Linked DNA regions of Homo sapiens: regions 2 and 3 are each linked to region 1. Evidence: promoter capture Hi-C in 16 types of primary human blood cells and fetal thymus (Javierre and others, 2016). All regions are on one chromosome and are shown on one strand. The core of a region is centred on a gene start or on the middle of the fragment in contact, and the rest is flanking DNA. Distances in the headings are between cores, read along the strand shown.

Evidence for each region. The method cuts DNA at HindIII sites, captures the fragments that hold promoters and counts their contacts. A CHiCAGO score of 5 or more calls a contact.
Region 2: a contact is called between a fragment that was not itself captured here and the fragment with the promoter of MYO16-AS2 in region 1, in 4 of 17 cell types (M1 macrophages, M0 macrophages, M2 macrophages and 1 more). The highest score is 6.5, in M1 macrophages.
Region 3: a fragment that was not itself captured here is called in contact with the fragment with the promoter of MYO16-AS2 in region 1 in 3 of 17 cell types (M2 macrophages, M1 macrophages and M0 macrophages); the score reaches 8.6 in M2 macrophages.

What each region holds. Positions count from the first base shown.
Region 1 is chr13:109,100,315-109,103,403 of GRCh38, reverse strand. It overlaps MYO16-AS2 (MYO16 antisense RNA 2), which reads left to right and starts at 1,446. Exons shown (of 3, transcript NR_046538.1): 1 at 1,446-1,861; 2 at 2,047-2,206; 3 at 2,595-2,849. MYO16 (myosin XVI) reads right to left here. Exons shown (of 35, transcript NM_001198950.3): 28 at 2,517-2,619. RefSeq lists an enhancer at 1,755-2,954. The HindIII fragment of the contact is 392 bases long and covers 1,253-1,644 here.
Region 2 is chr13:109,839,472-109,842,560 of GRCh38, reverse strand. No RefSeq gene overlaps it. Among named protein-coding and RNA genes, the nearest start is that of IRS2, 54 kb to the right of the region's middle. RefSeq lists an enhancer at 1,312-2,511. The HindIII fragment of the contact is 2,734 bases long and covers 323-3,056 here.
Region 3 is chr13:109,800,379-109,803,467 of GRCh38, reverse strand. All of the region lies in intron 1 of LOC105370360 (a long non-coding RNA gene), which reads right to left. Among named protein-coding and RNA genes, the nearest start is that of IRS2, 15 kb to the right of the region's middle. RefSeq lists an enhancer at 152-446. The HindIII fragment of the contact is 3,587 bases long and covers 1-3,089 here.

The sequences.
Region 1 (3,089 bases), core at 197-2,696:
AATGAAAACACACATTATAACTCTTAGCAATTTGGAAATAATGCTACAGATAGAATAACCATCCGATACAACCTTGTTGTCCCTGCAGCCTAACAGCTTCTGATTGAATCCCTGTATTAATTAAAAACAGAATTGACTAGGAGGAATTCTTTCTGTAATTAGCAACACATATCTAAAAAATGCTTTGCTTTTGAAACTGAGGAGTCTAACTTTCCAGGTTAGGAATGAGTGTTTTTTGTTTTATTTATTTATTTTTTAACAAAATCTTTTTTTCCTTTGTCAGACCAATATAAAAGTGAAGTATGAATATGCTTCATTTCTGTGAAGTTGATTATTTGTCTGGTAGTATAAAGTATATCATAGGTTACATCGTGAAGAAGCTGAAGAAATACTGTCTTTTCTGACTAGACAACAGGGAACTCATAAGCAAATATACTCAGTGAATGAGCACATTTATTTCTCTTTCCTTTTAATTTTTTTGTCTTGTGTTTTCAGCTTCTTTTAGGCAGGTGAAAAGTGTGGAGAAAATAGATTAGTGCCATGAAATGGGATCCCTTTCCCATTTAAAATAAATTTTAATGCTCTTGTTGAAAGTCCCAATGTATGTTTCAATTTAATGCTATCCTCAGCTGCAATCCTAGCAAAAGCACCAATATAGAAGAAATGATGGCTGGCAGGGCTTACCAATTTGTCTTCTGGTCTCCTCTCATATTTGACCTGTACTTTACAGTGGTCTATCAGAGGGACCACTGCTCAGATATTGTGGTTACTGCCAATCACTCTCTTAGTGAAATAATTATTACAGATTCCCTTGCTTTCTTCTACAAATAAAAATTCTCCCTCTCTCTCTCCCTCATACACATACATCTATCTCACAGATATATATATATATATACACACACACACACATATACATATATACACATACATATACATATATGTATATCATTATCTGTAAGTAGTCTTTAAAAGCAAAATAATACAATAAGAATATCTTAGTGTTACATCATCCGTGGACTACTACTATATAATTACTTATTCAAAATCTCAGTAATGATTCCATTGAACTGACTTCAGTTACCTATAGACAGAATAAATGCTGATATATGTGAATCCCACCCCTATGTCACTGACTCTGGAGGGGTTGGCAGACATCACTTTTGGTTAGTAATTCCTCCTTCTTCCTCCTTCCCTTTTTATCCAATCTTTTGGCACTGATGTGCATCACTGACAACTTCAGACTGAGTAAGCTTCCTCCTTCAGATTGTTATTTAAAGTTCAAATTTCATTATTAGTTAAAAAAAAAAGAAAAGGAAAAAAGATAACAAAGAAAAAGATTGGGTGGCACAGACAATTAAATCATTACTCATCAATGCCAAAATTCTAGGTTCTTTGTTCTTTGTCATAGACAGATGAGTGTGCGAGTGTCAATCCAGTCTTCCCTCCCTGTTTTACTTAGACTGGGCCACTTTTGGACCTATTCAGCAATTCTGAATCATCAGCTCATGTCATTTCTAAAGCCAAGTCCCCATCCTTTGACTCATCAATTATCATATATTTTTACTCATAGATATTCTCCCTATCACTTTTTAAAGATGCAATTTATGTCTACTTTCCAGTAATCGTCATATTTTTATCAAAGCTTTTAGCTACCATTTGTTTTTGCCACCTATGCACTTTTGGTGGTTTTACAGCAAGAAACTTCCAAATAATTTCTGGTGTCATGGACTGCGTGGTTTCCCATTGTTGCTCTAATCTGCCCTTCTCACTTCAAACCTCTACTTCCTAAAATGAGTCAAGGATGGACTCTGATGTTGTTGAAGGTATTTACAAAATCTGGAACCATCTTCTCCTGTTTCTGGTAAACATTTGCCTGTAATTTTGTCTCAGGTTATTTTCTTTTTCTGCAAGTCTAGCTGTAGCTTTCATTGGCCCCTAGGGTCTACCATTCAAATGGATCACAGACTATAATAAAGTGTTTCCAATTATGAAGCTTTTGCCAACAAATGGGCTTCAAAGGATGGTGACATTTTCACTGTATGGCAGGTGAGAAGCAGGGCAAAGAGAAACAGAAAAAAAGGGGAGCTGACTGAGACGTGAACGAGCTGGGGAAGTCCAGGTTGAACATGCACTTATGAGAGACCAACTCTGCACAAAGAAATCAACCTTAGTTCTTCAATTTTGGCTCCTCTGACTCCTGCTATGGGTAAATATGACAAAATGCTTTACTGACAAGGTATGAATCTGACACACGGGCAAACAGAATGGGGCTCATAAGCTTCTGTCATGTTGTAAAGGGAGCCTGTTAGATTTCCTCTCATGTTGGCTGCAAGATGTTAAAATCGGTAAGTCATAAAGAATGACAAATTTCCAGGGAATACACTTAATGTCACGCCTTGCCAAACACATCAAAGGAATTTGTTTTTGCCAGGAAGATTCTGGTGGCTCCCTGCAATGACTCAGCTCATTTATTTAAAATCCTAAAATGTTATTTTCATAGCTTGTAGGTCACCAACCTGCCAGCCTTGTAATTTACACTGCTGGAGAACAAGTCGACATCGCTCGGCAGCTGACTGTTCCTTCTTCTCACGCAGGAATGTATCAGCCAGTGGCTTATACCTGTGAAAAGCAGCAGAGACAGAAAGCAATGACTGCATTTGCCAAGCACATGATCACATTCAACAGGGCTGTCTTTGTTACATCGTTTCCCAAAAGTTTCCCCGTCTTTCTTTATCCCAGGAACAGCCAAATACCTGTCCATTGTGCATTTACTAGGGAACTGGAAAGAATCCTTATCTTTTATAAGGGAAATGGTTTTTACAACGCGTCAAATATATTTTTCAGTCCTCTAATATATGTTTAGCACTGTCATGAAGCACTTCAAACCATTTAACCAAAGGAAATTTGAAAGGAATGAAAATTAATCCAGTAGCCATTTTTAAACATTTGGCATGCTCTTTAAAAACATACCTCTTAAGAAATTTGAGCATTCTTTATGGCCACTTAAGCGTGAATTCAGATGTAACTAGAGTCCATAATAATGGAATACCAAAACGTCCATTCAGAATACTTATTTGAGAGGTAGAATC
Region 2 (3,089 bases), core at 440-2,939, 740 kb before region 1:
ACATTACAGAGGAGGCCCATCATCTCACTGCAAAGTTTAATACATCTAACTTCTCTTGTCATATAATCTCACAGCTGGAAGGAATCTCTGAAACCCTCCATGCATATTCAAGCTTAGGAAACCAAAGCCCTGGAGGTTCATTCCAGTTAGGGTTCTTTCCCTACACTGATGTGATGGTTCTCAGAAGCAAGGCAGGCGGAACAGGGACTTGTGAAGCTATGACCACATCTGGGCACCCATCAGACATGGTGCAGGGGGAGGAATATGAATAACGGCATATTTACCACATCTAGGGCACAAATCCTCTCTTTTGCAATAAGCTTATAGATGATCCTGACCATCCTCCAGATACTGCCCACATTCTTCCACATTCCTAACTTACCCAGGCAAAGAACACAGGTGTGGAGACACTTGTGTAGTGCATGATAGTTTCCAAACACCCAAAAGTGACTTTAGATAAGTTACTACCATCAACGTTGCCAGCAAGTCCACGAAGAATTCCCAGAGTAGGTTCCCGATTGTCTACCAAGGATTGTGAGTGATGTCCACTCAATCAAGCACCATTATTTTGCCTTGATTTACCTATTGGGCATTACCTAGTGCCTTTTGATTTTCTAGTTTCCAGTTTTGTTTTATTATATTTCATTTTATTTTTTGAGACAGAGTCTTGCGCTGTCGCCCAGGCTGCAGTGAAATGATACGATCTCGGCTCACTGCAACTTCCACCTTCCGGGTTCAAGCGATTCTCCTGCCTCAGTATCCCAAGTAGCTGGGATTACAGGTGCCTGCCACCAAGCCCAGCTAATTTTTTGTATTTTTAGCAGAGATGGAGTTTCACCATGTGGGCCAGGCTGGTCTCAAACTCCTGACCTCAGGCGATCCGCCCACCTCCCAAAGTGCTGGGATTACAGGTGTGAGCCACTGTGCCTGGCTGCCAGTTTTCTTAAGAGAAGACCAGTGTGGTATATCTCTGGATACCCAGTGAATGGCTTTGCCATGTGACTGTAGCAGGAAAGAGCTGTGGAACCAACCCTGGTCATCAGCATTTTGGGCGGGGGGGTGGTTGCGGTGGACAACATCTTCAAAGGAAAGGGTCTAAAGAGCTGAGCTAAATGGCTTCTCCTAGTCAAAACAAAACGCAACTCTAATATTAAAATATTTCAGTGTAAGTTTTATGATGCCAAACTTTTAAGTTAGTTTTATAATTATGAAGAAAGAAAGTTCTATTATGGCCTTGTGTGTGTGTGTGTGTGTGTGTGTGTGTTCACTGATCTCGAAATCACTCATGTAATATAGTATTTTGGCTATAAACCCATGGGCTCCCGATGCTGAAGGTATTTTGTTCTGATAACATTCAGAACAAAATCCCACCGCATAAAGAGAAAGAGGTCCTGGGTGGCCGGAGTGAGCAGGCTCTGGGGTTTGTGTCTCACCCTCCTAAGAACTCCACAGCCACAGCCAACCCCAGCCAGCTGCACTTCTCAGTTACCTCTGTAAAGTGGCTGTAGAATCAATGTCACCAGCCAAGGTAGGCAGGGACTTCCTCAGAACAGACAGTGAGGTAGAATAAAAGAATATGCAATTGTTCCAAGTGAATCTTAGACACATATCAGAGAGAAAGATTTAGACCAGATTTGCAAATGATGGGTATGCAACCAACATTGGCCTGGGACTTCAGCTGACTCCTGTTCTTCAACCTTTATGAGTCCAAAATGATGACTTCACACATTTTTGAGAAGGAAGTGGGGATCAGGGTTGGCTAAGCCACAGGGAATGTGGCCTGCTAATCCTGAAGACAAGGGCTGTGGTTTACACTTCCTCTCTATCCTTTCCTGCCACTCAGAAGTGGCCTGGGCATGCACGCCGCATGTGCCATCACTTAATGCTGGTTTGGTTTGACTTTCCAGAAACCAGCCATTCTTCTGCTTGCCCAGATGCTGAACTTCTCATTCTTCAAGAGCTGGTTCAGATAATGCTTCTGTGAAAATGTCCCTACCCCACGTACACAGTCTGAGGCCATTTGCTCTGTGCTCCCCAAAACCACATACAGAATGGCTGAGTCACTCAATGCTATGATACAAGTCTTTGTCACCTGCCTGTCCCACTACCCTTGAGTCACTGACAGCACAGTTCCAGTCTCTTGCGTCTCTGTGTCAGCACTGGTGAGGTGCCTGCCACATTCCATGTGTTCCATAAATGTTCTTTTTCAGAAGGAATTTGAGATGAACAAGGGCTTGGGGATCATTCAGCAGGATACAGACGCTGACAGCCGGCACGCAGCGGCCACACCGGCACAGTTAATCTCTTGACTCTGACACCACAGGAAGCAGACCCCATACATAATGCTGGCTTTATTTTCTCCACGTTCAGGCTAATCAGTCCTAAACACTCTTCTTCTTGTCTCTTAAATGCCTCTTTTCCTCCACAATTTTATTTTTAAAAATGCTTCTTGTGCCTTCGTTCTATTCATATCAGTTCTCTTAATTATAAAAATAGGCTGACTTTTAAAGATTAACTTATATATTAGCCTATTAAACTATCTAAGTTATGTGGCAGATATTATTCAAAACTTACTAGTAATAGATATTTTGCCTGCCAAACCCTTCAAAATGTCATATTACACCAAAGGCTGTTGCTTAGGTTAATTTAGTCACACTAGAATTAATCCAATTAGTGCACTAATTTTTATTTTGATCTATCATGATTTCCATGAAGTGTATTCTCTGTTAGAATATGCCCTGCCAAGAATGGATATGTCATTCCATAGCCAGCAAGGAAGGGTATCGAGGAAGAATGTTTAATGGCGGGAGAAAAGACCGGCCCTCATTGTTTATTAAACAGGAAAGTGAGTTCGAATCTGTTATATTATGACCCTGAATGTGAAAAAAAAAAAAAGACAGCTTATCTTTGGTTGGGAGGCCTGGGAATGATTTTGATGATTTTGATTTTTCTTCTTTATGCTTCTAGGGATTGGGGGGATTTCTTGGATGGACAGAAATTTCTTTACATCAGGTGGGGCAAAAGCACTTTTAAAAATCCTTGGCATTTGGAAAGCTTAAGCCATAGACTTAAAACTTCCCACCTCTCCT
Region 3 (3,089 bases), core at 215-2,714, 700 kb before region 1:
AATAAAAATCCACATCCTTTTAAGTTCATAATGACCTCGCAAGAGTGTAGGAGAAATCCCAGGGGACAAAACAAAAGGGGGCACACACATCGTGGAAAGGCGGTGCAAGGAACGACGGCTCTGGGGGAACCTGGTAATTTCCCTACACCTTGTGCTGCGGTTTCAGTAGCCCCAAAAGGCAGAAGACAACATGGAGGCTCTTGGAAGGGAAGAGTCTCCCAGGACCTTCTCATGCAGCCAGAAACTCCAAGAGCCATGCTGAGTGAAAGGACAAACACACAAAGTCTCTGCCCTTCAAAGGGAGAGAAGGTGACTTCAATATCTAGGCACAAAGGTTGGAAGTCAGCAAACAAACCAACAGATGATGACTCAGCCATACAGCTCCACAGCCAGATGCTGGAACTATCAGACGCTGAGCCCTTCTCTCAAGGTCCTTTTTAAGGGGAACGCAAAGTTAAAGAACGACCAAGTTAAATCTATTCCAGAAATGTAAATTTTGTTTAACATTGAAAAATCAATTAATATAGTTAGCCCTACTTATAAATCAAACTAGAAAGGCGTAAGATCACCTCAGTAGGCACTAAAAAATATTTGATTAATTTTTATATCCATTCAGCTTAAATTCATTGGCATAATGGGCTAGAGGAGAACTTCTTTAAACTGAAAAAAATTGAACCTACCAAAATCTTAGCACAAACATGGTACCACATGGTAGAATCTGGAACATTCCCTTTCAAAAAGGATTAAAACAAGGTTGCTTTTACAGCATACATTGGTGGCTCTAGCCAGTTCAATAAGATGAGAAAATCTGTAAGCGACACATGAAATGGTATTATTTGTGTATTTATAAAATATTTCCCTCTAAACATCTTTAAAGCATTAAAATTAATATGAGGGTTTAACAAAATGATCAGATATAAGATAAATTAAAAATTGATTTTATTTCTCTACCCAAGCAACAAAGAGAAAATGTAGTTTTTAAAAATGGATACTGGCCGGGCGCGGTGGCTCACACCTGTAATCCCAGCACTTTGGGAGGCCGAGGCGGGCGGATCACGAGGTCAGGAGATCGAGAACATCCTGGCTAACGCGGTGAAACCCCGTCTCTACTACTAAAAATACAAAAATTAGCCGGGCGTGGTGGCAGGTGCCTGCAGTCCCAGCTACTCGGGAGGCTGAGGCAGGAGAATGGCGTGAACCCGGGAGGCGGAGCTTGCAGTGAGCCAAGATCGTGCCACTGCACTCCAGCCTGGGCGACAGAGCGAGACTCCGTTTCTAAAAAAAAAAAAAAAAAAAAGGATACTTTTTACAAGAGTAACAAAATATATAAGGTGCTAGGAATAAATCTAACAAAATATTTTAAAGATCTCTATGGGGAAAATTATAAAACGTTATAAAAAGACATTTTACAATTCCCTAAAGAAATAGGGAAACGTGCCACATTCCTGGCTAGGAGAACTCAGTACCTTAAAGATGTCCAATCTTTCTAATTTTATCTCAGTCCTAACAAGGTTTATTAAACTTGTCAAGCTGATGCTAAATCATAAGGAAAAGAGTTACAAATATCCAAGACATTCCTGAAGGAAAGTGAAGAAGTAGGTGAAGGAAATGGTCTACCAGAAAGTGAGATTTGTTAATAAAATATAGTAATTAAGACAGTGTGGTAATAGCATAAGAAGAAGCAAAAAGAACATCGGGGAAAAGAACAGAGGGCACAGAGGCTGACTCATGCAAACCTAGAGACTTGCCGTATCTGAGAAGCACTATTCAGACCAGTGGGAAAAAGTCAAATATTTGAAACACGCCTCGGAAACAATTTAAAAAAAAACTGAAATTGAGCCACTATCAGACACCATGCACAAACATATAATGCAGGTGAATTAAAGCTAAAAAAAGAGAGAGAGAGAAAGGAAATACAGGAGTAAGTACTTGAAAATTTGGCGATAGAGAAAAAAATTAAAACAAAATGAAAAAGGCACAAAACTCAAAAGGTAAACTTGATAAATTTTACTCAGTTAAAATTTAAAATTGATGTTCATTCAAAAGAAAACATAAAGAAAATAAAAAGCAAATAATAAATTTGACAAATCGATTTTTATAAAAGATTAACACATGGCCTCTATAAACAATGACTACAATCCAATGGGAAAAATTGTAAAAGACAATGACACCTTATTGGTGGAATTTTCAATTTGTACACTTACTTTCGAAAATGATTTTTATTACACATTAAAATTAAAGGTGGACAGAATTAACACTGGCAATTCTATTCTTCTGTCTAAAACAGTGTGCCTAAGAATATATATGTATGCATAAATAATTGTTAAAAGGCACTTTAATTGTTAAAAGGTGTGTAATTGTGAAACATACTTTTTAAAAAAACAAGTCATGTTCAAATAGAAATTTTAAAAACAACTACAAATAACCTAAATTTCTATTGGCAGAAGTGAAAAACAGTTATATATTTATTACAACTGAAAAAGATGAACTACGACTTCAGAAATCGTAATACATTTCTCTCAAAAACATAACGATGAACAGGGACAGAGAGAAGACTTATGGCCGCCAGGGGTGAAGGGAGGGGAACTCAAAAGTGACTGCTGTGGGCACAAAGTTTCTTGGGGTTTCTTTTTGGGGTGATGAAGATATTCCAGACTTAGAGTGTGATGACAATTTCACAGCCTTGTGATTATACTAAAAAATATTAAGTTGTACATTTTTATGGTATCTAAGTTACATCTCAATAATAAAACCATACTGTTGAGCAAGTTGCAGAAGAATATTAATAGGATGATAATATTTGTATAATGCTTAAATTTAAGTACAATGCAAAATGTTTACATACATATCCAGTAAAATCATGAAGACAGCCAAAGGACAATAATCACAAAATTTCAGATTGTGATAAGGCTAGTCAGTGGACTTCAAAATAAATATTGGTAATGTCCTACTTTTTAGGCTTGACTATGCCAATTTTAAAGTATTATTATTTATAACTTACATATATGTTAAATATCTTTTTGTATGTGTGTACTATGTTGCACAATATAAAAATCCAATAAGTAAAAAATAAAAGTTCTTAAGGTAAA